Linked DNA regions of Homo sapiens: all the other regions are linked to region 4. Evidence: promoter capture Hi-C in human tissues and cell types (Jung and others, 2019). All regions are on one chromosome and are shown on one strand. Each heading gives the region's core, a stretch centred on a gene start or on the middle of the fragment in contact. The rest is flanking DNA. Distances are from core to core; before and after follow the strand shown.

Region 1 (5,660 bases), core at 1,786-4,285, 310 kb before region 4:
AGACATGTGTCACCATGTTCGGCTAATTGCTAATTTATATATATATATATACACATTTTTTTTTTTTTTTTTTTTTGGAGACAGAGTCTTGCTCTGTCGCCCAGACTGGAGTGCAGTGGCATGATCTCGGCTCACTGCAAGCTCTGCCTCCTGGGTTCACGCCATTCTCCTGCCTCAGCCCCCAAGTAGCTGGGACTACAGGCACCCGCCACCACACCCGGCTAATTTTTTTGTATTTTTAGTGGAGACGGGGTTTCACCATGTTAGCCAGGATGGTCTCAATCTCCTGACCTCATGATCCGCCTGCCTCGGCCTCCCAAAGTGCTGGGATTACAGGCGTGAGCCACTGCACCCAGCCGAATTTTCATATTTTTTAGTAGAGACATGGTTTCACCATGTTGGCCAGGCTGTTCTCGAACTCCTGACCTCAAGTGATCCACCCGCCTCGGTCTCCCAAAGTGCTGGGATTACAGGCCTAAGTTTTAAATTTAAATATGATGCAGTGATCTCAATGGGGAAGGAACTCCATGTTGGAAATCTGTGAGGTCACGGTCATGACAAAGCTGGGGGGACATCACTGGCATTTAGTGGGCAGGGTCCAGGCATGCGGATCATAGGGCAGTCCCCCATGATGAAGAATTGTCCTGTGTCCATTTTATGTTATAAAACAATAAATATTTCGCACAGTATTCATAACATCAAAACAAACTTAAGTTTCAAAATCTCATGAGAAGTTGGTCACCCTTTCAGAAAAGCATGTCACCAGTGGAGGTGCTGTACACAATACCTGGATCATCAACACACCATAGCTATATTGATCTGTGTTCAGCTGCTGAATTCACAGTGAGTACATACAGGTAAACATGACTACTTCATTATGTCTTCTAATGAACATGTGCCTGACATGGATATATCCAAATACATGTTATTTTACTGTAAATTTTTTATTTCTCCTTTATGTCACATTTAGGATAGTATATTGATTTTTTAAAGCGGGTAAAGGTAGGTTATATTACCTATGAATTTCATTTCAGGATAATATAAATTGATGTTATTTTGAAAGCTGTTATAAAAACAGAGCTCAGAGGCTGGGCACAGCGGCTCATGCCTGTAATTCTAGCAGTTTGGGAGGCCAAGGTGGGTGGATCATTTGAGTTCATGAGTTCAAGACTAACCTGGGCAACATAGCAAAACCTTGTCTCAACAAAAAATGCAAAAATTAGCTGGGCATGGTGGTGTGCACCTGTAGTCCCAGCTACTTGGGAAGCTGAGGTGGGAGGATGGCTTGAGCCCAAGAGGTTGAAGGTACAGTGAACAGAGATTGTGCCACTGTACTCCAGCCTGGATGACAGAATGAGACCCTATTTCAAAAAAAAAAAAAAAAAGAAAGAAAGAAAAGAGAGAGAATGAAAGAGGAGAAAAAGAAACAAAGAAAAGGAAGGAAGGAAGAAAGGAAGGGAGGGAGGGAGGGGGTGGGAGGGAGGGGAGAGGAGAGGTGGGGCAGGGAATATATTCTGATTCTGACTTAAGATGCTAATGTCAAAAAAAAAAGGTTGATTTCTAATTATCAAAAGTAACAATTTCTAGTTAAACACAAATTTTCCAGAAGTTAAAATACATTGTGGCAATGCCTCCTTTGTCCTAAAGCATGTTAATTCAGTTATCAAAAGCTAATAAGGGCTAGCCACGGTGGCTCATGCCTGTAATCCCAGCACTTTGGGAAGCCAAATCAGGCAGATTACCTGAGGTCAGGAGTTCGAGACCAGCCTGGCCAACATGGCTAAACCCCTTCTCTACTAAAAATACAAGAATTAGCTGGGCATGGTGGCGCTCGCCTGTGATCTCAGCTACTCGGGAGACTGAGGCAGGAGAATCACTTGAACCTGGGAGGCAGTGGTGGCAGTGAGCCGAGATCGCACCATAGCACTCCAGCCTGGGCAACAGAGCAAGACTCTGTCTCAAAAACAAACAAACAAATAAACAAAAAGCTTATGAGTAGATACATTAAGGGAAGCATTTAATATACTTAATAAAACATTCCATTTTTAATTGCATTTGCATGGGCATTTTTAAAGGTCTTTCACGTTAGTGCATACTGATTATTATATGCAAACAAGCATAAAGTATAAAAACTGAAAACTCAATTTTTTAAGCATATAATAATACTTTTTTATAATTTCAATAATTATGGATAATGGATATAAATAATTACACTTAGCAGTTGCTGCTATCGAATTCTTAAACCAGGTAATCTTTCATTTCGCTTACTCTACATTCTGAAAAATAACACAAATTATGCTTCTAAAAGTACAATTAACGTTTAAAACAAGATCTAGTGCTTTCTAAGAATTAATAATGGTTTAAACATTTCTATAAAAAACTATCAAATCCAGCCTTAGGAAAGTCTATCTTGAGCATTATCCTATGAAATAAAATTTATATATACTTTTTTTTTTTTTTACTGAGGGGGTCTTGCTATGTTGCCCAAGCAGGTCACAAACTCTGGGCACAAGCTATCCACCTCTGCCTCAAGTGCTGGGATTACAGGTTCTCTTTTTTTATATATAGAGAGAGACAGGGTCTCAGTCTGTCACCCAGGCTGGAGTGTAGTGCTGTGATCATAGCTCACTGCAACCCTGACTTCCTGGGTTGAAGTGATCCTCCCACATCAGCCTCCCAAGTAGCTAGGACTACAGACACCGTGCCACCATGACCAGCTAATTTATTTATGTATTTATATTTGTAGAGACAGGGTCTCGCTATCTTGCCCAGGCTAGTCTCAAACTCCTGGCCTCAACCAAACCTCCCACCTTGGCCGCCTAAAGTGCTGGGATTACAGGCGTGAGCCACTGTGCTCGGCCATGTAAGTATTCTTTTAACTGTTACATTTTTATATCACAATTTAACCTATGAACCAAAGAAAGAACCACTGATCTGAAAACAATATAATGCAATGTATCACAGCTGAATATGGTAAGGTACTAAATAGAAGCTTCAATTTATAATTAGAACATTGAAAATATTTCAAAGTGGATTTAGGTTTTTCAAAATGATGACAATTCCATATAAGTTACTGACAACATTACAATTAGTAACAATTTTAATAATTTTGGGATTCTCAGGTCTCTGAACCAAGACAATGTTTTAGTTCATATTTAATATACAAATTAGTATGTCTAATCAGTAATATATTGTTAAAAAATACTTTTGATCACCTTTTTCCCATTCATTCAATATCATTCCCAAATTAATATACTTGACCACTTTAGCATTAACTTAAAAGTGTCATGCTCTTCAGGACATAAATTTCTAATAATTTAGAGTTTAGTAGAGGTATGTTTTAACATAATTATTTTAAAATTCCAAAAATAAAACAAAATTAGATACCTCACAGTTTTTCCAAAGTTCCGAATCAGTCTTTCCACTGTTTTGTAGCTCTTGCATTAAAGAAGTTAGGACTTCAACTGTACCTTGAATTACAGATGGTCTGGTCTTCCCTGAGAAAGAGGATACCCCATTTGTACTAAGGTGGGGACTACTTCTGTTGAAACATAAATAATTCAAATGGTTTTCTTCATTCTATCAAAGTGTTGAATAATTCAGCAGTTCAAGATTTAGCAGAGCAGTACAAAACCACTGACATTTAATCCTTCTAATGGCACCTCATTTGTTCAAAATCTGATCACAAGTTGCTCCACAAAAGGAAACGGCCAGTAAAAAGACCGCACTGTACTCTTTTTAAGAACACAACAAGAAGACCTTCTCCAGAAGTGAGAGAACACTCCAAAGGATCGGCAGAAAATAGAAAAAGTCTGTGCTAAACAATAAGATTAATTTCCAGCTTCTCTGATCTCAGCTATTCCAGAGGATTATTTCCCCCAACTTTCAGAACAGCCCTTCATTGTGCAGTGGGGATTCTTTCCCCACTGCCCCAAATGACAGTCAAATCTTGTTCACTGGACACCCTTAATTTGGTACGATAAGCTGATGCTTATCTCTGCACTATCTCTGCATAAAAGTTGTGCCAAGCAAATCAGCAGCAAATATTCAGGACTTATTTAGCCTACTCAGTGTGTAAAACAGCACTGAGTTTTTCCAGGAGTACTGCTTTTCCAAACTTCAGGTAAGTTATTTCGGATTTGTTTTATAAACACACAATATATTTCAGGACATTAAAATGTACTTAAAATCTAGTCACCAAAAGATCATTTTAATTTATTTACTGCTTGATATCCTGCTTTCTTTCACAAATAATTTGTTTAAAAAAATAAATAAAAATAACAATAAAATAATAGTTAGGACCAGTGAAAATATTACTAAAAATTCAAAGGAGGCCAGGCGCAGTGGCTCACGCCTGTAATCCCAGCACTTTGGGAGGCCAAGGCGGGCGGATCACCAGGTCAGGAGATCAAGACTGTCCTGGCCAACATGGTGAAACACCATCTCTACTAAAATACAAAAAATTAGCCGGGTGTGGTAGTGCGTGCCTGTAGTCCCAGCCAATCAGGAGGCTGAGGCAGGGGAATCCCTTGAACCCAGGACACGGAGATCGCAATGAGCTGAGATGGCACCACTGCACCCCAGCCTAGTGACAGAGCAAGACTCCGTCAAAAAAAAAAATTCAAAGGAAAGAATATATGTTATCAGTAAAGGATTTTACATAGCTGTAATAATCAAGTTTAAATGTGGCCAATTTAACTGCCAGTCACAATGAAAAGGAAGACAAGTTTAATTGCCTAATTTTCACTAGCAAGGCACAGTTAGCTTCCTCCAGCCAAATCAAACACTGTTCTAACAGGAATATCTTCTAGAAGTGTACTTTAAAGGGACCACCAAGTAATACAAGAACCAAAATGCGTGGCCAACTTTCTGCAAGTGCATACAGATTACTGTAGGACCATTTCCTGTGCCTTTTAAAATTTCCTTTTCTCGTTTTATTTCACATATTCCTTTGTTTTTTACAACTCCCCACCCCCATTGTTTTATATACCCATGTAAGCTGCCTTAAATTCCTCCTGAAAAGGGCAGAGAATTAACAACTTTTAAAGTAATGTATTTATTTATAATACACAATTTCTTCAAGACCTACCGTGTTTAAAGCTCCTTGCCCCTTTACCAGTAAGGCCCCAAAACCGCTGTTTTCCTTCCTTGTACCCGCTCTTTATAGATGCTCTCCTCTCTTACAGTCCTTGCCTCTTTGCTGTTTCTACACTACTATAAATTTAGAAACCCAATAACCAAGCTTGTCAGACTATGTGCAAATTGAAAGTAAACAGGCTCTGATGAAAAACAAACCATGATCTGTGTTAAGACCATTAAAAAATAAAAAACCAATCACAGGATAGCTTAAAAATAAAATGCATTTTAAAAAATTAATAAAATGCATAAAACACACTTTGATAACATCTATTTAGTCCACTATTTTGTCTACTTAGAGTCTGTTATTGTCTTAACTTCCTAATACTCAACTTTAACTGCTACTTCCCACATTGGTGAAGTATTTCTGCAACATAAAACATCAATTGTCCCAATCATTTAAAAATGTAGAAATAATATTTAGGCAACTAAATGTTAAAGATATGCTTGTAATTTACCAAAAACAAACAAAAAAGTATAAAGGAAAGTAAAACAAGCAAAACAAGTTCTTTTTCAGAATGCTT
Region 2 (5,041 bases), core at 808-3,307, 360 kb before region 4:
GTCAGGCATTATAAAGGTCTGCACTTCATTTCAGACTGCATGTGCATATAAAACAATCTGCTCTCAAACAGTATTTACACATTTGTACACTAATTTAAAAATCACATGTAACAATCTATATTTTGGATACAATTTATTTTACAGTTTTATGATTCAACTTAACTGTTGTTCTAGGTTTCTGTTACTTCTGAATCTCAGTCAAGATTCAGGTACTTGCGGCTCTGAACATTCCCCTCACTGTCTCTCAGGCATTTCACACCCTTTACACTCTGTGCCCCTACTGTAGCTGAGGGTAAAGTGCTGAAGGAAGCAGGGCTGCCCTTCTTGTTCCCTTCAGACCAGCACTGTCCAACAGAATCTTCTGCAAAACCAGAAATGCTATCTGCACTGTCCAATGCAGCAGTCACAAGTCAGGTGTCACTACTGAACACCTGAAATGTGGCTGCTGAGACTGAAGAACCAATTATAAAACGTTAATTTTAATAATGAAAGTTTTCAGTATCAAAATGGAGTCACTAATGTCAAACTCCCAAAAAATGGAGCTGGGAGGCACAAAGGAGCAGCCTCTCACACAGATGCTGATTATGGGAACTATTCTGAATTCCTCAGAACGACAGTATTCCAGATAATAAGCTGCTTGTACAAGGAAACATCCCTAACAAGGGATGTCTCCACCACTGAGCTAATGCTAATGCCTGCAACATGCTCCTGTAACCAGTGGTCTTTGTTTTAAAATAGCTTAGTGGACTGTGGACTGCCCTTTGTCTTTTAAAGTTTCCTGTGTCCCAACCCCTTTGGACATGCTTATGGTTCACCACAGCATGCGTACTCCAGCTTGCAAACCCCCAACATTTCCAAATAAATTTCTTTGGAGAGTCAGTCTCTGTCACTGATTTTAGGTTGACATGATTGATTTAAATAGTAATAGTGGCTGTTGGCAGGACTGTACTGAACAGCGCAATTCTAGACATTGCTCCCCCAGCTCATCTGAGGTTCCCACCATCATGTTAACCCCCAGTCATTCCCCAGACTTTAGAGCCTGCCTTGTTTTCTCCACACCTATGCCTGTTCTCACACTAGGCAACTTCCTGACCACTCTCTCCAGTGAGGTGACCCTCTACTCCTCAGCCAGCCACCTCAGAGGGTACTTGCTGGCTTTTGTCAAAACCAGAGAACACACTCCCCTTAAGAAACCAATACTCCAAAGACTGTGCCCCTATTCTGCCTCCCGCCCTCAAGCTTCAGCAACGTGACCTACGATCCTTGGCCTCTCCATTTTCCATTTATCAACCCCTCCTAGTCTGACTAGGTCCTCTTGATCTACCCTGAAGTCCACACTCACGATACTTTCTCTCTCACCTTTCACCACACCTGACTGGCAGCAAAATCTGAGGACTGGCTGACTACAAAGGCCGCGCTTCAGGTCTCAACTCCTACCACTGAGCTTTGCTGGAAAAAAGCCACCAGCTGGGCAGACTCATCACCACCTCAAGCGGACACCCCAAACCGCCTGACCGCCTGGCAACATGACTTTCTTTTTTTTTTTTTTTTTTGAGACGGAGTCTCGCTCTGTCACCCAGGCTGGAGTACGGTGGCGTGATCTCGGCTCACTGCAAGCTCCGCCTCCCAGGTTCAAGCGATTCTCCTGCCTCAGCCTCCCAAGTAGCTGGGACTACAGGCGCCTGCCACCACGCCCGGCTAATTTTTTTGTATTTTTAGTAGAGACGGGGTTTCACCGTGTTAGCCAGGATGGTCTCGATCTCCTGACCTCATGATCCGCCCACCTCAGCCTCCCAAAGTGCTGGGATTACAGGTGTGCGCCAACGCACCCGGCCGGCAACATGACTTTCTGTAACCAGCAAGCTTCAGTTCTCCAAACATGACTATCTCACACCCTTTCCACCCTCCTCAAACCTCCCATCCCACCTTCGTTGACAGGTGAAACTTTTGAGTCAAATTCAAAGAAACACCAGAAACCATGAAACAACTCTTGTTTTCTCTCTGTCCCCTTTCACAACCAAACATTTTAGAGGCTGCCTCTTCTATCTACATTCACTTCAACTCCAGTCACTCTTTCCCTCAGTTTTTTTTTTTTTGAGACAGAGTCTCACTCTGTCGCCCAGGCTGGAGTGCAGTGGCGCGATCTCGGCTCACGGCAAGCTCTGCCTCTTGGGTTCACACCATTCTACTGCTTCAGACTCCCGAGTAGCTGGGACTACAGGCGCCCACCACCACGCCCGGCTAATTTTTTGTGTTTTTAGTAGGGATGGGGTTTCACCATGTTATTAGCCAGGATGGTCTTGATCTGCTGACCTCGTGATCCACCCACCTTGGCCTCCCAAAGTGCTGGGATTACAGGCGTGAGCCACTGCGCCCGGCCCAGTTTTTAAATTAAGAACTATTTCAGGGCCAGGCTCAGTGGCTCATGCCTATAATCCTAGCACTTTGAGAGGCCAAGGCGGGCAGATAACGAGGTCAGGAGCTCGAGACCACCCTGGCTAACATGGTGAAACCCCGTCTCTACTAAAAATGCAAAATAAAAATTAGCCAGGTGTGGTGACGGGCACCTGTAGTCCCAGCTACTCAGGAGGCTTAGGCAGGAGAATGGCATAAGCCCAGGAGGCGGAGTTTGCAGTGAGCCGAGATTGCACCACTGCACTTCAGCCTGGGCAACAGAGCGAGACTCCGTCTTAAAAAAAAAAAAAAATCTTCAAACATTCTTGGAAAATTACAAAGAATACTATAACAAGCATCTACTCACCCATTCTCAGTTTTAATAAATGCTAAGATCTTGCCAATTTTTTTTTTTCTTGAGATGGAGTTTTCCTCTGTCACCCAGGCTGGAGTGCAGTGGCGTGATCTCAGCTCACTGCAACCTCTGCCTACCAGGTTCAAGCAATTCTCCTGCCTCAGCCTCCACAGTTGCTGGGATTACAGGGGCCCACCACTGTGCCCAGCTAATTTTTGTATTTTTAGAAGTGACGGGGTTTCACCATGTTGGCCAAACTCCTAACCTTAAGTGATCTGCCCACCTTGGCCTCCCAAAGTGCTGGGATTACAGGTGTGAGCCACGTGCCCAGCCCGATCTTGCAAAATTTGTTTTTAATTATAAGACCAATTTTTATATATTTAATTACACAGAAGGCATAATGTATTAATACACATTTTTAAATGTCTTTTTTTTTTTTTGAGACAGGGTTTTACCCTGTCCCCCAGGCTAAAGTGCAGTGGCATGATCATGGCTCAGTACAGCCTCGACCCCTCAGGCTCAAGTGATTCTCCCACCTCAGCCTCCCGAGCAGCTGGGACTACAGGCGCGTACCACCAACCACCACACCCAGCTTTTTTTTTTTTAAGACAGAGTCTCGCTCTGTCACCCAGGCTGGAGTACAGTGGCTCGATGTCGGCTCACTGCAACCTCCGCCTCTCAGGTTCAAACCATTCTCCTGCCTCAGCCCTGTGAGTAGCTGGGATGACAGCTGCGTGCCACCACATCTGGCTAATTTTTTTGTATTTTTAGTAGAGACGGGGTTTCACCATGTTGGTAAGGCTGGTCTCAAACTCTTGACCTCATGATCCACCTGCCTCAGCCTACCAAAGTGCTGGGATTATAGGCGTGAGCCACTGTGTCTAGCCGCTAACTTTTTATATTTTTTGTAGAGACAGGGTTTTGCCATGTTGCCCAGGCTGGTCTCAAACTCCTGGGCTCAAGCAATTTCCCCACCTTGGCCTCCCAAAATGCTGAAATTATAGACGTGAGCCACCACACCTGGCCTTTAATGCTTTCTCTGTTCAATATTATGTTTGAAATTTATCTGTGTTAGTACATATAAGCTCTATTCATTTTTATCATTTACCCATAGTATGAATATATTTGTCCTTTCTCCCGGCAGTGGAAATATGGTTTTTAATATGCAGCCTTTCGACAATGCTAAAATTAACACGTGTGAAAATTCCTCTAAGGCAAACATCTTAACATGCAACTGTGGGATTTGGTGCACATCTTCAACCTCTCTGACTGTTGCCAAATCACTCTCCAGACAAGCTGTATCAACTGTCAATCATTACTTTGAGAGTTCCTGTCTCTCCATATCTTTGCCAAACGTTAAAGTGTTTCAATTTTAAATATAACCTGTCCGATGGTGTGAATTGTATCTTATTGTTTTAATGTGCATTTTCATGACAATTAACATGTTCTCATTTTTATTAGCCATCAGGGATCTGTGCGCTGCTTGTTATATTCTTTTACCATTTTTTGTTGAGAAAGTTATCTTTTTCTTATTGATTTGTAAGAGTTCTTTCATCTTCTGGATACTTTTCCTTTATTCGTTCCTGTTCACTTTAAAAATACAAAATATCAGCCGGGGCCAGGTACAGTGGCTCACGCCTGTAATCCCAGCACTTTGGGAAGCTGAGGCGGGCGGATCACTTGAGGTCAGGAGTTCGAGACCAGCCTGGCCAACAAGGTAAAACCCCGTCTCTACTAAAAATACAACAAATTAGCAGGCATGGTGGCACGTGCCTGTAGTACCAGCTACTCGGGAGGCTGAGGTGGGAGAATCGTTGAACTTGGGAGGCGAAGGTTGCAGTGAGCCAAGATTGTGCCATTGCACTCCAGCCTGGGTGACAGAGCGAGACTTTGTCTCTAAAATAAAATATCAGCCAGGAACTGTGGCTCACGCCTATAATCCCAGCACTTTGGGAGGCTGAGGTGGGCGGATCACTTGAGGTCAGGAGTTTGAGACCAGCTTGGCTGACATGGCAAAACCCCATCTCTACTAAAAATACAAAAATTAACCAGGCATGGTAGTGGGCACCTGTAATCCCAGCTACTTGGGAAGCTGAGGCAGGAGAATCGCTTGAACATGGGAAGCAGAGGTTACAGTGAGCCGAGATTGTGCCACTGCACTCCAGCCTGGGTGACACAGCGAGACTCCATCTCAAAACAAACAAACAAACAAACAAAAAACATATATTATATATATATCTCAAGCACACATAGACATACAGGTAATATTCATGCCAACCATCCAGCTTTATA
Region 3 (5,446 bases), core at 923-3,422, 270 kb before region 4:
GATGACAAGAACGAAACTCTGTCTCAATAAATAAATAAATAGTAAATAAAAAAGCGAACAGGTTGAATTTAATGACTTCTGAGGTCCTGTCCATTTTTAACATCCTGTGGTTTTCACATTATAAAATATTATCTCTTACAGTGCCATCAGACAAGATCAGTTGATCAGAACAGAAAGCTAGCTCGGAAAATCCTACAAGAGAAAGTAGATGTTTTCTACAATGGTGAAAACAGTCCTGTTCACAAAGAAAAACGAGAAGCGGCGAAGAAAAAACAAGAAAGGAAAAAAAGAGCAAAGGAAACCCTGGAAAAAAAGAAGCTACTTAAAGAACTGTGGGAGTCAAGTAAAAAGGTCCACTGAGAAAAGAATTAGAGATTCCAACTGACAGAATCTGCCAGAAGCTCCCAGGGAATAATGGTGGCGAGTTCCATCACCAGCATTATTATAGTGCTTCAAAAGAAATATTTTTGATGAACTTAAAAGACAACAAATTTATTTAAATGGTGCACTAAACTGTAGTGAACAGAGACATGCACGATTCAAGAATAAAACTCGGCTGGGCACGGTGGACGGTGCCTCACATCTGTAATCCCAGCACTTTGGGAGGCCGAGGCGGGCGGATCACTTGAGGTCAGGAGTTTGAGACCAGCCTGGCCAACATGGTGAAACCCCGTCTCTACTAAAAATACAAAAAATTAGCCAGGCATGGTGGCGGGCACCTGTAATCCCAGCTACTCGGGAGGCCGAGGCAGGAGAATTGCGTGAACCTGGGAGGCGGAGGTTGCAGTGAGCTGAGATCGCGCCACTGCACTCAAGCCTGGGCAACACCTGGGTGACAGAGCGAGACCCCATCTCAAAAAAAAAATAAAACTAGTTCAAGTGCAATGACACACGCCTATAATCCCAGCACCTTGGGAGGCTAAGACAGGAAGATCACCTGAGCCCAGGAGCTCAAGATTGCAGTGAGCTATGAACACCACTGCACTCCACCTGTCCACTTGTTCTTGTGTGACAGAACAAGACCCTGTCTCTAAAAAATAAGATAAAACCATAAAGAAACACAGTCAGTACTATACAAGAATAATGGCTACTTCTAGAGGGAAGGAGTTGTCATTGTGATGAGGCACTTGGAGGGGTTCTGGGGTGCCTGACAAAGTTCTGTTTCTTCACCTGGGTGGTAGTTAGAAGGGTGTCCCCGTATTTCAAATTGTACCTTTGTGAGATTGTATGTTTTGTAATAATAAAATTTTTTTTGTAATTAGTAAAGTCAATTTTTATGGAGAACTGGAGAATGGAGTCAAACATTAATAGCATTTCTTGGCAACTTGCCATCTGCTGGGAAGCTGCTGCCCAGTGACACTTAAAAGTCAGTTATCCCCATGTCAGCTCAAGACAGTAAGAGAAAACAAGGGCCGGGCATGGTGGCTCACGCCTGTAATCCCAGCACTTTGGGAGGCTGGGGCAGGCGGATCATGGAAGTCAGGAGTTTGAGACCAGCCTGACCAACATGGTGAAACCCCATCTCTACTAAAAATACAAAAATTAGCCAGGCGTGGCAGCACACGCTTGTAATCCCAGCTACTTGGGAGGCTGAGGCAAGAGAATTGCTTGAATCTGGGAGGCGAGGTTGCAGTGAGCCAAGATTGCGCCATTGCACTCCAGCGTGAGCAACAGAGCAAGACTGTCTAAAAAAAAAAAAAAAAAGAGAGAAAATAAGAGGGTTGGAAGAGCTAAAGGCTCTGTTCCTTGTCCATGTGCTCTATTAGCTTCTAGGCTGTATGATGCCCAGTTGTGCCTCTGATGTAGAAACAAACACATTCCCTGCACGTTGATTTGCAAGATTTGTAAAGGTGAGGTTCCAGAATCTGATTTGCTTGTAAATTTACGTCACTTAAGCTGGATTTTACCTTACAGTTGTTTTTCTTTTAAAGCCATGCTTTATAGCTTGGCTTGTTAGAACTCTTCTGGAGTCCACGTAGAAAACAAATAGGGAAAAATGCTGAGAGGTGAGAAAGCCATTGGGAGATTGCCAGTTGCAGGGCCTCAGTTGTGCAGTCTGTCCAGCAGGCCTAGGCGGCATGTCCAGTAGGCCTAGGTGGCATGTCCAGTGCATACATCCAAGCACACCTTTCTCTTTGAGGCTGCCAATGAAGGCTCTTCTCACCTCAGTGACAGCTTTGGATGCTTACACATTCAATGCAGGGCTCATTCTACACCTCCTGTTGCGAGTGTACAGGACCCTTCCCCAGCCCAAACGCCCTGTAGAAAATAAAGGCTCTAGAACAACACCTAAGAAACCAGTAAGAGTGGGAGGGGAAATTTGGAGCTGGAGATAAGGGAGAATGGTTTCCGTTTGTCTCCTCTCTCATACCTTTGCAACTTTCTGCCACATGCAGGAAGGGGACACAGCACCCATTTCGCTAGAGCCTGTTCCTGCTGGCCTTCAGCCTTGTCATGGCTGAGAATTCGCCTCATGCCTGCATCAAAGAAAGACAAGTCTCTCTCATTTGTCTTTGTCTACTGCTCAGCAAAGCAAATTCTCATTGCAGGTATTTAGGGCCTAAGGTATAGAGTAAGAATTAAAATCCCTTTGGGAGGCACTGTCAGAGACCACCACGTGGACTCTCAACACATCCAGTGCAGCCCATTTTTTCCCTGGCACCAGAGCAGATAATTCTTCCAGTGAGCACCATATGAAGTAGCTTGAAGTTAGGAGCCGTACTTTATGAAAAAGATTCCTGTAGCACCCACCAAAAGCCCACAGGATAAGCACCTACGAACTGAGAATGGCCTAACCATGGGGTAACAGGCCAACTCAATAATACTGCTTCTGGCCGGGCGTGGTGGCTCACGCCTGTAAACCCAGCACTTTGGGAGGCCAAGGCGGCTGGGTCACCTGAGGTCAGAAGTTGGAGACCAGCCTGACCAACATGGTAAAATCCCATCTCTACTAAAAATACAAAAATTAGCTGGGTGTGGTGGCACGCTCCTGTAATCCAGCTACTCGGGAGGCTAAGCTGGGAAAATCGCTTGAACCTGGGAGGCAGAGATTGCAGTGAACCAACATCAAGCCACTGCACTCTAGCCTAGGCAACAGAGGGAGATTCCATCTAAAAAAAAAAAAATTTTTTTTTTAAAAACTGCTGCTGCTATTTTTTTTTCCTAGCATACACTTAAGTTTGCTGCACTTAAAATACACCCATAATGCAACTTCACTTTATCCCTACCTCTGACTTAGCAAACACATTCTTTCCCCAGCCAACTGTGCTAATGATATCACCAAAATGTTTCCGTGTCAGATGGGAAAATACAGTTTGAACAGGCATCTCCTACCTCTTGTAAAAGGTAAAGTAGAGGTTCCTCTCCAAAGACTTTCCTCCCCATTTAATTTGGAATAAACGGTAACTTCTCTTCGAAGCAAAATTTATTCAAAGACCTGTGCTAACATTCCTAATTATCTGCTAGCCGTGGTAAAGAAATCAATGTACTTTATGTTCTTAGCTCCCACAATTTAGCCTAAATATTTGTCCTGGCATGCTTACACTGGTCGGAGCAAGCATTAGGTCATAGCCTGTTCCTCTTCCTTATTTAAAAGTGTTTACCTTTCTCACCATTCCACAAGTTACTTTCTCCTTCCTTTGTTCTCTTCTGCCTTCGCCTCTTTTAAAAAGTTTTAAGTTGCTTCCCAATCAGGACAAATACAGAATATGAGGTCCCGTTCCAGCCAATGGAAACCGGACACAGCAGTAGGGTGGACGCATCAGGTTACAAATGACCCTGTCTCTTTGTTCGGTGTACTCTCGTGGCAAAACTGCTGGCGAATGTACCCTTTCTGCGGGAAGTAAAAATGGCCTTGCTGAGTAAATTAAATTTATGTTCAAGTGCTATTTCTTCACGGCACCGGGGAACAAGCATTTCAAACACTTTCATGAGAGATTATTTAAAATAGCACTTCTTTACACCAGGCGTGGTAGCTCACACCTATAATCCCAGTACTTTGAGAGGCTAAGGTGGAAGGATCACTTGAGCCCAGGATCCAGCCTAGGCAACATAGTGAGACCTCATCTCTGCAAAAAAAATTTTTTTTCCATCACACACCCATTCATTCAATACAAAAAGTCTTTTAAAAATTATTCAGGCATAGTGGCACACACCTGTAGTTCCAGCCACTAGGGAGGCTGAGATGGGAGGATTGCTTGAGCCCAGGAGGTTGAGGCTGCGGTGAGCCAAGATTATATTACTGCACTCCAGCCTGGGTGGCAAAACAAGACCCTGTCTCAAAAAAATAAAACAGCACGTAAGAATTCAAGGAACCCACATTTTAATACAAATTGTTAATGAAAATAAGCTTTATTACATCAAGTAATAAATACATACAAAGATGCAAACAGTTTTAGTCATTTTCTTCCAGATGTTTTTATCAACTTACAATAAACGCAGAACTGAGATCTACTTACAGTCTTAGTATGAAAGTGTTCGGGGGTCCTTGTTAGGTTTGGTGGGTTGCTCTTTCTTCTGTATTTATAACTTGTGCATTTTTAAAAATTGACTTTGAAGCACTAATAGTCATGCAAATGCTTAAGCAAAAAAGAAGTTACATTAAGCAGAACCTACATTGTATGGCAAATGGGAACCGGCTACTAAGTAAAGCGTGCTGTCAATATGCGTTCAAAACAAAATCCCTACAGTGGTATTAGCTTATGAAAAGGAACAAAGAACACCATGGGTAACAAATGTATACAAAAGAGAAGATTAAAGGGAGACAATGGTGTCTTGGAGGCAAACTACAGTTTGCTGTAAGATAACTTTCCGTGCATCTTTTAAATCAATGCTTAAAAAACAAAAAAAACCTGGGCAGTTCCTAACTACTTAAAATGCAAATCCTAATTAACTGCAAAATCTTTTCTCAATCTTTGAGACTGTAGGTTCAGAGCCAAGTGAACCATGGGAGGAAAAACGAAACTGTAACCATTTTGAAAACAAGGGTTTCATCTGAACAGGGGAGATGAACTGTAACTTCTCATCTTGTAAAAAGATGGAAATCCTTCAAAACCAACAAGGCAGCTAGGATCTGGCATTCCGTTCCGTTTCTGCCAAGCACTCCCGAACCAGTCCTCTAGCGTGAATGATGCCTGAAACAGAGGCAGAGACCTGAGGTCAGCAAGTGCACAGGACCAGCCAGCAAAGCCCATTCTGAAACAGCAAGAGGATCCATCCTTCCACAGCCTGTCCACAAAACCCTCAGACATAAAGAGAACCAGGGAAACCTATAACCAAGCAACCCTGAAGGACGCTAACAATCCCATCCCTCTCTAAAGCCCTTCCCTCCTCACCACAACTCTTCCTGTCTCTCTAAACATTTTTTCCTGCATTCAAGGTGCACCAGCAAGCTGTCCTTCCACGACACTGTTGGATGAAAGACATGTCTCCACCCAAATTCTTTTGC
Region 4 (5,163 bases), core at 2,577-5,076:
AAAAAAATCTCTATCTCTTCCTCATGCTAGAATAATTGCACCATCCCATGGAAAGTCAGTAGCCACACGTGGCTGTTGAGCATTTGACATGTGGCTGGTCTGAGTGGAAATGTGCAGCAGGGGTTAAAGACACACCAGATTTCAAAGATGTAGTAGGAAAAAAAGAGTGCAGAATATCAAATGATAAGTTTTTATACTGATTACATGTTGAAATGAAAATATTTTGGATCTACTGGGTCCCATAAGATATATTAAAATTAACCTCACTGGTTTGTTGTTGTTGTTGTTTTTGAGACAGAGTCTCACTCTGTCACCCAGGCTGGAGTGCAATGGTGTGATTTCGACTCGCTGCAATCTCTGCCTCCCGGGTTCAAGCGATTCTCCTGCCTCAGCTTCCTGAATAGCTGGGATTATAGGCACTCGCCACCATGCCCGGCTAATTTTTGTATTTTTAGTAGAAATGGGGTTTTGCCATATTGGCCAAGCTGGTCTTGAATTCCTGACCTCAAGTGATCCACCCGCCTTGGCCCCCCAAAAGTGCTGGGATTACAGGTGTGAGCCACCGCGCCCAGCCAACTTCACTGTTTTTTATTAACATGGCAAAGCTGCATAATATTTCTATGGTATAGCACTACACTAAAAAGTCAGGCTCATCAGGGCCAAGGCCTCATCTGTCATGGTCATTACTGTCTTCCCAGTGCCCAGAACAATGCATGGCACACAGTAGGTTCTCAGTAAATATATTCGCTGAATGAGTGAATGAATAGCATAGTCTGGTATGTTACACGCGAGTGTATCAGCCCAGCCATTGCTTTCTAGAATTTATTTGTGTTTTCCCTTTCTTCCCTGTTACCCGCCTGCTGCCTGACATGAGACTTTGCTTTTCTCTGCAGAGCCATGGTACCAAGAAGGGCACTGTGCTCGCTATGGCCTGTCATCAGAGTTGCAGACTGAGTAATGAGACAGAACATGACACAACTGTGGCCTGCATCTGAGTGATGAGTGGAAGTGAGTGAGTGGGTCTACTGAGAGGAGGAGTAGGGGGAAGAAAGTGTATGTCCTTTACTGGAGCCATAATTGCTGAAAGCGAGAGAGACAAGGAAGAAGGGGTAGGGAAGAAGAGGGGAAAGGGAAGAGGAATGGAGGTGGACAGACTAAACCAGGACATGCCAAAAACATTTTTGTGGAAATATCACCTTGAAGAGCCTTTGAGACTCTGCAGGAAAAAAAAAAAAAAATCATACAAGTCTCTCTCCATCCCAAGAATGTGAAGTAAACGGGTCTGGGGCTGGGGTGGGAAAAGAATTGCATCCTTGATTTAGAGAGGTCATCCTCAATGTAAGTCAACAAGCCCTGGCCCTGAGCGCACGGTGTTCACTTCCCAGCTGAACACTTTCCAGAGGCAACAAGTGCAGCTGCTGACAATTCCATGTGACTTCAGACCTGGTGGCCTCCGATGGCTTCCAAGGATTTCTCCCAGCTCCCCCGCAACAGAACTAAAGAGCCCCAGTTGGGGGACAGTATAGGTGCCAGGACTTCTGTGTGATCTGGTCAAAGCCCCTTGGTCCCTGTTAATAAGAGGCGCCACACGAGAGAATTTCCAAGGTCCCTTGCCTCCTTGACCCTCTATGAGAGATGGAGGCCTCTAGGGTAGGAGTAGAGGTGCTTGGGGTGGGGACGGTTTCCTAATATGAGCCTGTGAGCACCTCAATGAATGTCTCTCCAGGCCTAAAAAGAATTTTAAGACTTGCAAAGCCCTTGCTATGGGCAGGCTCTGTCCTGAACACTTTATATGTATTTATATTAACTCTTTAAACCTCATCACATTCTAATGGGGGTACTATTACTATCCCATTTTAGAACTGAGGAAACTGAAGCACAGAGATGCTGGGTGATTTGCCCAAGATCACACAGCCTGCAAGTGGTAGGGTTTGAAACCAGGCTGTCTAGCTCCAAAGTCCTAGCTTCTAGGAGTCTTGAAATTAATTACAGGTCAAAGCATTTTCAGGCTCCCAGAGTGACCTCGGAAATGCTGCTCAACTCTTGGGAGCCTGAGTTTCCTTCCTGCCCCTAGGGCATAGGGACCCATGAGGACGAGCACAGTCAAACATGGCAATGGTGCTGTTACCTACCTGTGGGTCTGCCCTCAGGTAAAGGGTTCAGACCCAGCTTTGGCTATTTTACTCCAAAACACAGAGATCCATCAAAGTACACAATAAGGGATGGCCTGCCCCTGAGGTTCAGAGAGGCCATCTGTATTTCCTGAGGCTGAACAGCAAGCTGGAGACTGCTCAGGCACCCTGATCCCTCAAGGAAAGGTGTTTCCTCCCATTCTCAGTCTGAAGGGGCTGCCAAGAGCATCCCTGGCTGAGGTTAGGGCAGGAAACCACATGTCTTTCACTTCCTTTTCTCCAGAAACCTCGTCTGAACTCCAGGCCCAGTGGGGAGGCCCTGATTCAGAGAGACTCCTGATCACAGGGCAGAGGCTTAGCCTTAAAGCCACCCCAAATCATCCCTTTCCCCCAATTCAAACAGGGTGGGGAGGAGACACGGGGGCTGGGACTCTCTCACCACTAATTTGGGACAAATTGCTCCTCCCACTGTGACCCTCGGTTTCTTTATCTGTAAAATGAAGATAGTCTCTATAGAGTCCTGTGAGGATTAAGGATAAAATCAGAGGAGAGAACACGGGCTACCACAGGTTCATAAGCTAGGGGAGTCCCGGGAAGAAAGTTGCAAATATGAACCCGAAGACTAGGGGTCACGAAGCTCAGTGGCTGGAGGTCACATTCCCTTTGCTCTGGGGAGACTGGGGGGGGGGGGGATGAAGAAAGGGTCCTGGGCCTGATGTCACATCTTCTTGGTAACTCGGGAGGCCAAGAGGCTTATTTCATGTCTGGAAGAGAATAATATGTCTAAGCACTTAGCTTATATGGTCCCATTTAATTCTTCTAAGGTGGGTCCTATTATGATTACCATTTGACAGGTGAGGAAATAAAGCACAGAGAGGTTAAGTAACTTACCTAAAGTCACACAGCTATTAAACGGTAAAGGTGGGATTGGAACTCCAGAGAACAGCTCTTAATCTCTCGGGTGGTATCTGCCAGCCACCCCTGGTCGGGCAAAAGAAGGCCAGGGCCTCCCTCCCTCCCCACGTCGGGTCTCCTCTGGTCCGGTCCCTGAACACACACACGTGCGCACCCACAGCTGCCCAATGCGGAAGAGCCCTTGGGTCCCCGCGGTCCCACTGCCCGGACGGACAGACCGAGGCCGCCGCCCACCTTCTGGTGCTTGCGCTCCTTCTCGATGCGGTCCATCCTCTCCAGGCGCAGGCGGTCCAGCTCCAGGCGCAGCTCGTCCAGCTCGGGCGCGACGTGGTGGCGGCTGACCAGCACCTCCAGGATCTCCAGGACGCGCACGACCTTGGGCATGAGGCGCGCGATGGCCTCGCAGCCGTGCTGGTCAATGACCCGCTCGAACTCGTGGCCCACAAGCGACGCGATGTCGTACACGTCCATGACGGTCAGCTCGGCCACGTTCTTCTCCAGCGCCGACTCGGCCGCCAGCGCCGACCCCCGCTCCTCCTCCATGGCCACCCTCCTGGCCTGTCCCCCGCCCCGCAAACTCGTGCAACTCCCAAACTTGCCGCTGTCGAGGGCCGGGCCGGCCGGGCCCAGCCTGGGCCGCGGGCGGGCGCGCTCAGCGGGCGCTGGGGCGAGGGCGCAGCGGGCAGCGGGCGGCGGGCGCGGGCGCGGGCACGGGCGGCGGCGCGGGGTGTGCGGGCCCGGGGTCTGGGCGCCCGGCTCGGCCCGGAGCTGCTCCCGAGTGGGCGGCGGCGGCGGCGGCGGCGGCGGCGGCAGCGGGGAGGGCGCGCGCGTGCGCAGGCCCGCGGCGCCTCCCAAGTTGGGATCCGAGTTGCGCTCAATGGAGCCGGGCCGGGCGCCTCGGGGCGGTGCGGGCCTGAGGGGCGGCAGAGCGCGGGGCCGGAGAGGAAGGGCGGCCCGCGGCTCCTCCGGGAAACTTTGGCGGCGGCGGCTGCGAGGCCGGGTGATCGCTTCCCCACAGGGAGGCCGCGCGCCCCGCCCCAATCCCGGCCTGGCCAGGGGCGCGCCCGCTTTCCGCCGCCCGGGGGCGCCCCGGGGTACCCCCCCAAGCGCCGACTCCGCGGCCTGCACTCCGGGCCCCCCTCTCCAGCCGCCGGACCCGCGGCGCCCCTCACCCGTGCCCCGGCCGCCCCTCCCCCGCCCGGCGCTGACTCCTCCCACCACCCGGCCGCCGGGAGGGGTCCAGGCCGCCCCGGGAGAGGGGGCCGGGGGCGCTGGTCTCGCGGGACGATTCGCTGCTCCGGGTAGCGGCCCCGGCCTTGGAGAGGGATGGAGGGGTCACGAGGAGGTCCCCGGGCTGGGGCTCATCCCAGGAAGAGAACGGGGACCCCCCCCGGCCCGCAGACACTCCGCGCAGACCCGGCCACCAGGCGGACTTGCAGAGGCGCCCGGAGAGGGGCCGACGTGTCGAGGAATGCTGGATCCCCGGAGCCCCAGGGCGCGCCTCCCCGAGCCACATCCATCACTGGCTCCTTGTGACATGAACGCCACTTCACAGTAGAGCGAAGCCCGCTTGGCATTCCAGCACCACGAGTTCTCTTGTCCCAAGGCCCCCTGTCCATTTGGGCTGGCCAAATCCACTTGTCCATCAGACCCCCTCCCACTCCCGGGAGAACGTTTCCTGAACCCAGAACCCCATCCACCCTCCCCGCCCCCCACGCAGGAGTTAAGGACCCCCTTGCAAACTCACAGTCCCCTGCTTGCCCCATCAGGATTGCTCTTAGCATCCTGAGTTTTCACCGTGTGGTTGCAGGTAGGTTTCCACCGTCAGATCTTGGCTCCTTGAGGGAAGAAATCTTAATGCCCTTGTAGCCATAAAGCGCACCCCAACGTGGCACGTATTGATTAAAAATCTAAAAGTTGGCCGGGCGCGGTGGCTCACGCCTGTAATCCCAGCACTTTGGGAGACTGAGGTGGACGAGGTCAGGAGTTCAAGACCAGCCTAGCCAAGGTGGTGAAACCCCGTCTCTACTAAAAATACAAAAATTAGCCGGGCATGGTGGCGCATGCCTGTAATCCCAGCTACTCAGGAGGCTGAGGCAGAGAGTTGCTTAAACCC
Region 5 (5,725 bases), core at 3,013-5,512, 410 kb before region 4:
AATACAAAATATTAGCCAGGCATGGTGGTGTGCACCTGTAATTCCAGCTACTTGGGAGACTGAGGCAGGAGAATCACTTGAACCCATGAGACGGAAGCTGCAGTGAGCCAAGATCACACCACTGCACTCCAACCTGGGCAACAGAGCGAGACTCCATCTCAAAAAAAAAAATTAAAAAGTAATATACATTAATATATACAGAGAATCTCTCTGAAAGAGGACACACACACAAAACTAGCAACCATCACTGTCTCTGGGAAGGAAAACTAAGATATTGAAGACAGGGGTGGCAAGAAGTCTTTTTTATTATTATTATTATACTTTAAGTTCTAGGGTATATGCACAACGTGCAGGTTTGTTACATATGTATACATGTGCCATGTTGGTGTGCTACACCCATTAACTCGTCATTTACATTAGGTATATCTCCTAATGCTATCCCTCCCCCATCCCCCAACCCGGCAAGAAGTCTTATGTTTGCCTGTAGCTGCTTTTCACTTCGGTACCAAGTATAATGCATTACTTACTTACCCAAATAATATTTAAAATATATATGATCTTTATATTTTATTACTGAACTGTAATCTATGAGTTTGTAAGTTCCATAAGGAATGTATCTAATTTATCTTTAGAATCTTGCTAATGTCTGGTGCACTATCATGCATAGCCTTTTCAATGTTTCGTTAAAAAAATTTTTTTTATTTTGAGACAGAGTCTCGCTCTGTAGTCCAGATGGAGTGCAGCGGTGACATCACAGCTCACTGCAGCCTTGATCTCTTGGGCTCCCTTGATCCTCCTGCCTCAGCCTCCCAAGTAGCTGGGACTACAGGCATGTGTCACCATGCCCAGCTAATTTTTGTATTTTTTTTGTAGAGATGAGGTCTTGCCATGTTGCCCAGGTTGGTCTCAAACTCCTGGGCTCAAGCAATCTGCCCACCTCAACCTCCCAAATGTTAAATGTTTTTTAGTAAGTGAAAGAATGAATGAGTAAATGATTCTAAAGCACTCAAAAAACAATGTTCTTTGAATCCTAGAAAATTGTGAGTCTTGAATTGTTAGAGAAGGAAGAAGTTAGGTAGAAGCAAAAACAAATAAATAATTGATATCTGGATACAAAAAGCAGACTCAGTCATATCAAAGGATGATGCACACCACTGATGGTTCATTTAAGTTGATGCTACAGATTTAACAAGAGTTTTTAAAATTTCAATTCTAATTATTTTATGTTTTAAAATGCCAATATTTAATATTTCTTTTGGAATAGCAGAACGCAAAGAAAATGCATGGTACAGGCCAGGCGCTGTGGCTCACGCCTGTAATCCCAGCACTTTGGGAGGCCGAGGGGGGCGGATCACGAGGTCAGGAGTTTGAGACCAGCCTGACCAACAAGGTGAAACCCCGTCTCTATTAAAAATACAAAAATTAGCTGGGCGTGGTGGCAGGCACCTGTAATCCCAGCTCTCAGGAGGCTGAGGCAGGAGAATCGCTTGAACCCCAGAGGCCGAGGTTGCAGTGAGCCGAGATTACTCCACTGTACTCCAGCCTGGGCGACAGAGCGAGACTCTGTCTCAAAAAAAAAAAAAAAAATTAGGGTTTTTTTTTTTTTTTTTTTTTTTGAGATGGAGTCTCGCACTGTCACCCAGGCTGGAGCGCAGTGGCGTGATCTCGGCTCACTGCAAGCTCCGCCTCTCAGGTTCACGCCATTCTCCTGTCTCAGCCTCCGGAGTAGCTGGGACTACAGGCACCCGCCACCACGCCCAGCTAATTTTTTGTATTTTTAGTAGAGACAGGGTTTCACTGTGTTAGCCAGGATGGTCTCAATCTTCTGACCTTGTGATCCGCCTGCCTCGGCCTCCCAAAGTGCTGGGATTACAGGCTTGAGCCACCATGCCCAGCCTAGGCTCTACCTTTTAATCCTGTGACCCTCATATCCCTAAAGAATCAGAAAGAAGATCTAAAAACCAAGCAGACCCTTCAGTGAGTTGAATATAACTGCTAAGGGTTCTGCAGGGATTGATGCATATCCTTGGGTAAGCTTGGGAATTCTTGCCCTATTAACCTCTCACTCTTGCCCTACTATTCTCCACAATCCAGTCTGGCAAGCAAGCTGACTACAACTCCCACCATTTAGAAGAGGGCCAACTTGCAGATCAGACCACCAAGCTTCAGGCGAAAAGCTGTCACAAAGCTGGAGGGCTTTAGTCCTAGGAGAACTGCACACTGACCCCTCTGGTGGTCATGCAAACCACTATGGTTAAAATAAGGCAGAAAATTAAAAGTAGCAAAACCACACTGAGTGAGTAAAGAAAAAGAACTAGGGAGGAGGGAGGATGACTTAGGAAGTATGGCCAGCATGATGGGTTCAGCCTGTGGGACAGCTGGCAGACACACATCCATCCACCCCTTCCGTGGCCTCCGAGAACAGCCTGATTCATGACATTGGAACTTCAGCTTCATCATGGTAGCCCCAGTCAGCTGAATGACTCAGCAATCCCTCAAAGACTGAATTATCTCTAGGGTTCTCTGTTGATTGAAAGAGAGGCAAGAATTGCCTTTGAGAAAGATCAGGATAATGACTGGGAAAATGTGATGAAGCTTGCATGAATGACAGCAGTGATGAAGCAGTGTCTGTTCTCTGGTTTCCAGCAGGAGCAAAAGATTTACTTCCAACAACCAGGCTCTGTTCACTGGGGTCTCGTCCAAACACTGCCCTCAGCATGGTGGTCTAGGGGATGCCAGGGCAAGGGACCACAAAGCTACAGGGAATTTCTGAGAGCCCTGCCCTTGGAGAATGCACGAATGGTTCATCCCTCCTCAAGTCACATCCATCATCCAGGATGAGTTGAGCTTGAAATAATGGACTTCCAGGCTCTGTGACAACGACTTAATGGTGCACAAATGTGTTCAAAACATTCTGGAAGAGTCCTCAGAATAACCCCACTGAGAGATGCTGAACACCCTGCATCACGCCACTTACACCGCTGCCCTCCATTTCCTGGGAGTCCAGGTCGCAGGGGACCCAGGAGGTGCTGGCAGCTGCCTGAACTGTCCGGGTGTTACTCTTGTTTCTAACCAGAAAATAAGGTCACTGGCGTGTTGATGCCCAAGCAAACAGGTGTTAGAGGTGCTCCTACCCATCAAATTCAACAATGGTTTCCACTGACGCATAGAAAAACAATGGTGTTTGCCTACTTATTTTGCAACAGGCTGCCATACTGTCTTATTCTAATTAATTTTGAGTTTGTCTACTTTGAAAACCTAAGACAACGGCTGTATCCACTCAAAACATTCATTTTGCAACCTCCTATCTGAGAGTTATGCCCTGCCTCTTTTTCTTTCTTTTTTTTTTTTTTTTTGAGACGGAGTCTCGCTCTGTCGCCCAGGCTGGAGTGCAGTGGCGTGATCTCGGCTCACGGCAACCTCTGCCTCCCGGGTTCACGCCATTCTCCTGCCTCAGCCTCCCAAGTAGCTGGGACTACAGGCGCCCGCCACCACGCCTGGCTAATTTTTTGTATTTTTAGTAGAGACGGGGTTTCACCGCGTTAGCCAGGATGGTATCAATCTCCTGACCTCGTGATCCGCCCGCCTTGGCCTCCCAAAGTGCTGGGATTACAGGCATGAGCCACCGCGCCCAGCCTGCCTCTTTTTCCTAGCCTGTTGCATTGGCTTGAATCTAGAATAAAGAACAGTACTAAAGAGAGAGAAGGCATGCTTGTCTTGCAACAGACATTAAAAGGAATGTGTCTTAGAGCAACAGTGCTTCCTAGATGTTATTTGGCCCTGGAATGCTTTTTTGATGCAATACCCAGGAGCATTCTGTGTTCCTCAAACATACTTTGGAAAATGCTACTAGAGCATTTGACTATTAAGGATAAAGTATCTGAGTGCGGTTGCTCATGCCTATAATCCTACCACTTTGGGAGGCCGAGGGGGATCACTTAAGCTCAGGCATTCAAGACCAGCCTAGTAAACATGGCGAAACCCCATCTCTACAAAAAAAAAAAAAAAAAAAAAAAAAAAAAAAAAAAAAAAAGCGGGCTCACACCTGTAGTCCCAGCTACTTAGGAGGCTGAGGTGGGAGAATCACTTGAGCACAGGAGGTGGAGGTTGCAGTGAGCTAAATCACGCCACTGCACTCCAGCCTGGGTGACAGAGCAAGACCCCGTCTCAAGTTAAAAAAAAAAAAAAAAAAAGGTGGGGGGGCAGGCGCAGTGGCTCATGCCTGTAATCTCAGCACTTTGGGAGGCTGAGGGGGGCAAATCACAAGGTCAGAAGATCGAGACCATCTTGGCTAACATGTTGAAACCCCGCCTCTACTAAAAATACAAAAAATTAGCTGGCCATAGTGGCACACGTCTGTAATCCCAGCTACTCGGGAGACTGAGGCAGGAGAATCATTTGAACCCAGAGACAGAGGTTGCAGTGAGCAAAGATCGCGCCACTGCACTCCAGCCTGGGCAATACAGTGAGACTCGATATCAAAAAAAAAAAAAAAAGATAAAGTAGCTACCGATGGGAGATATTCTTTATCATGTTGAAATATTTGCCTATCCCTCAGTCTCTACGTTTTTAAGATTAATGAGGCTGGGGCCAGTGGGCTCACGCCTGTAATCTCAGCACTTGGGAGGCCAAGAGGGCGTATCACCTGAGGTCAGGAGTTCAAGATTAGTCTGGCCAACATGGCGAAATCCCGTCTTTACTAAAAATACAAAAATTAGCCAGGTGTGGTGGTGGGCACCTGTAATTACAGCTACTCAGGAGGCTGAGGCAGAAGAATTGCTTGAACCCGGGAGGCAGAGATTGCAGTGAACCAAGATCACTGCCATTGCACTCCAGCCTGGGCAACAAAAGCGAAACTCAATCTCAAAAAAAGGAGTAATGAGGCTAGGCATGGTGGCGCACACTTGTAGTCCCAACTACTCGGCAGGCTGAGGCAGGGGAATCCCTTAAGCCCAGGAGTTCAAGGCCAGCCTGGGCAACATGGGAGTCCTGTCTCTAAAAAAATTAAATGGATAGGCCGGGCGTGGTGGCTCACGCCTGTAATCCCAGCACTTTGGGAGGCCGAGGCGGGCGGATCACGAGGTCAGGAGATCGAGACCATCCTGGCTAACACGGTGAAACCCCATCTCTACTAAAAATACAAAAAAAATTAGCTGGGCATGGTGGCGGGTGCCTGTAGTCTCAGCTACTCAGGAGGCTGAGGCAGAAGAATGGCGTGAACCCGGGAGGCGGAGCTTGCAGTGAGCCGAGATTGCGCCACTGCACTCCAGCCTGGGCAACAGAGAGACTCCGTCTCAAGAAAAAAAAAAAATTAAATGGATAGTGAACTTTATCAAATGCTTTTCTGGCATCAACTGAAAGCACAGTAGTTGTTTTATTTGTATATTTTTCTCTTTTTTCTTTTAGTAGATCTCCTAATATTTATGTTTCTGAGGCTGGCCCACAACCCAGCATAATGAGTCCTGTGCTGGGTACTTGTACTGGGGGAACACAGAGACACAGAAAAATGCATAGAGTTCTTGCCTACAGAGGAAACAGAGGGGAGAGGAACACGGGGAAAACAACACACACACATGAACATGCACACTCCTGCATACCATCTGAATGGCAGGCTAGTACTTGTGAATTTTGTTTTGCGTTTTTTTTTTTTTGAGATGAGGTCTTGCTCTGTTGCCCAAGCTGGAGTGCAGTGGTACGATCATAGCTCACTGCAGCCACAAACTCC

Evidence for each region. The method cuts DNA at HindIII sites, captures the fragments that hold promoters and counts their contacts. A contact is called where the count stands out against the background at its distance.
Region 1: a fragment that was not itself captured here is called in contact with the fragment with the promoter of RILPL1 in region 4 in 3 of the 25 tissues and cell types used here (dorsolateral prefrontal cortex, hippocampus and spleen).
Region 2: a fragment that was not itself captured here is called in contact with the fragment with the promoter of RILPL1 in region 4 in 1 of the 25 tissues and cell types used here (mesenchymal stem cells).
Region 3: a fragment that was not itself captured here is called in contact with the fragment with the promoter of RILPL1 in region 4 in 3 of the 25 tissues and cell types used here (IMR-90 fibroblasts, lymphoblastoid cells and spleen).
Region 5: a fragment that was not itself captured here is called in contact with the fragment with the promoter of RILPL1 in region 4 in 1 of the 25 tissues and cell types used here (dorsolateral prefrontal cortex).

Annotation. Positions count from the first base shown.
Region 1 is chr12:123,224,076-123,229,735 of GRCh38, forward strand. It overlaps MPHOSPH9 (M-phase phosphoprotein 9), which reads right to left. Exons shown (of 24, transcript NM_022782.4): 3 at 3,388-3,541. Among named protein-coding and RNA genes, the nearest start is that of MPHOSPH9, 6.2 kb to the right of the region's middle. The HindIII fragment of the contact is 6,998 bases long and covers 1-5,660 here.
Region 2 is chr12:123,166,807-123,171,847 of GRCh38, forward strand. The region is part of intron 16 of MPHOSPH9 (M-phase phosphoprotein 9); the gene reads right to left. Among named protein-coding and RNA genes, the nearest start is that of PITPNM2, 18 kb to the left of the region's middle. The HindIII fragment of the contact is 3,215 bases long and covers 451-3,665 here.
Region 3 is chr12:123,256,672-123,262,117 of GRCh38, forward strand. It overlaps MTRFR (mitochondrial translation release factor in rescue), which reads left to right. Exons shown (of 3, transcript NM_152269.5): 3 at 142-1,289. The coding sequence ends at 360. CDK2AP1 (cyclin dependent kinase 2 associated protein 1) reads right to left here. Exons shown (of 4, transcript NM_004642.4): 4 at 4,305-5,132. The coding sequence ends at 5,065. Among named protein-coding and RNA genes, the nearest start is that of CDK2AP1, 12 kb to the right of the region's middle. The HindIII fragment of the contact is 6,691 bases long and covers 1-5,446 here.
Region 4 is chr12:123,529,893-123,535,055 of GRCh38, forward strand. RILPL1 (Rab interacting lysosomal protein like 1) reads right to left here and starts at 3,827. Exons shown (of 7, transcript NM_178314.5): 1 at 3,282-3,827. The coding sequence starts at 3,590. RefSeq lists an enhancer at 2,828-3,645 and silencers at 3,861-4,550, 4,570-4,755. The HindIII fragment of the contact is 25,082 bases long and covers 1-5,163 here.
Region 5 is chr12:123,124,272-123,129,996 of GRCh38, forward strand. All of the region lies in intron 1 of PITPNM2 (phosphatidylinositol transfer protein membrane associated 2), which reads right to left. Among named protein-coding and RNA genes, the nearest start is that of PITPNM2, 24 kb to the right of the region's middle. RefSeq lists an enhancer at 3,377-3,988. The HindIII fragment of the contact is 4,327 bases long and covers 2,100-5,725 here.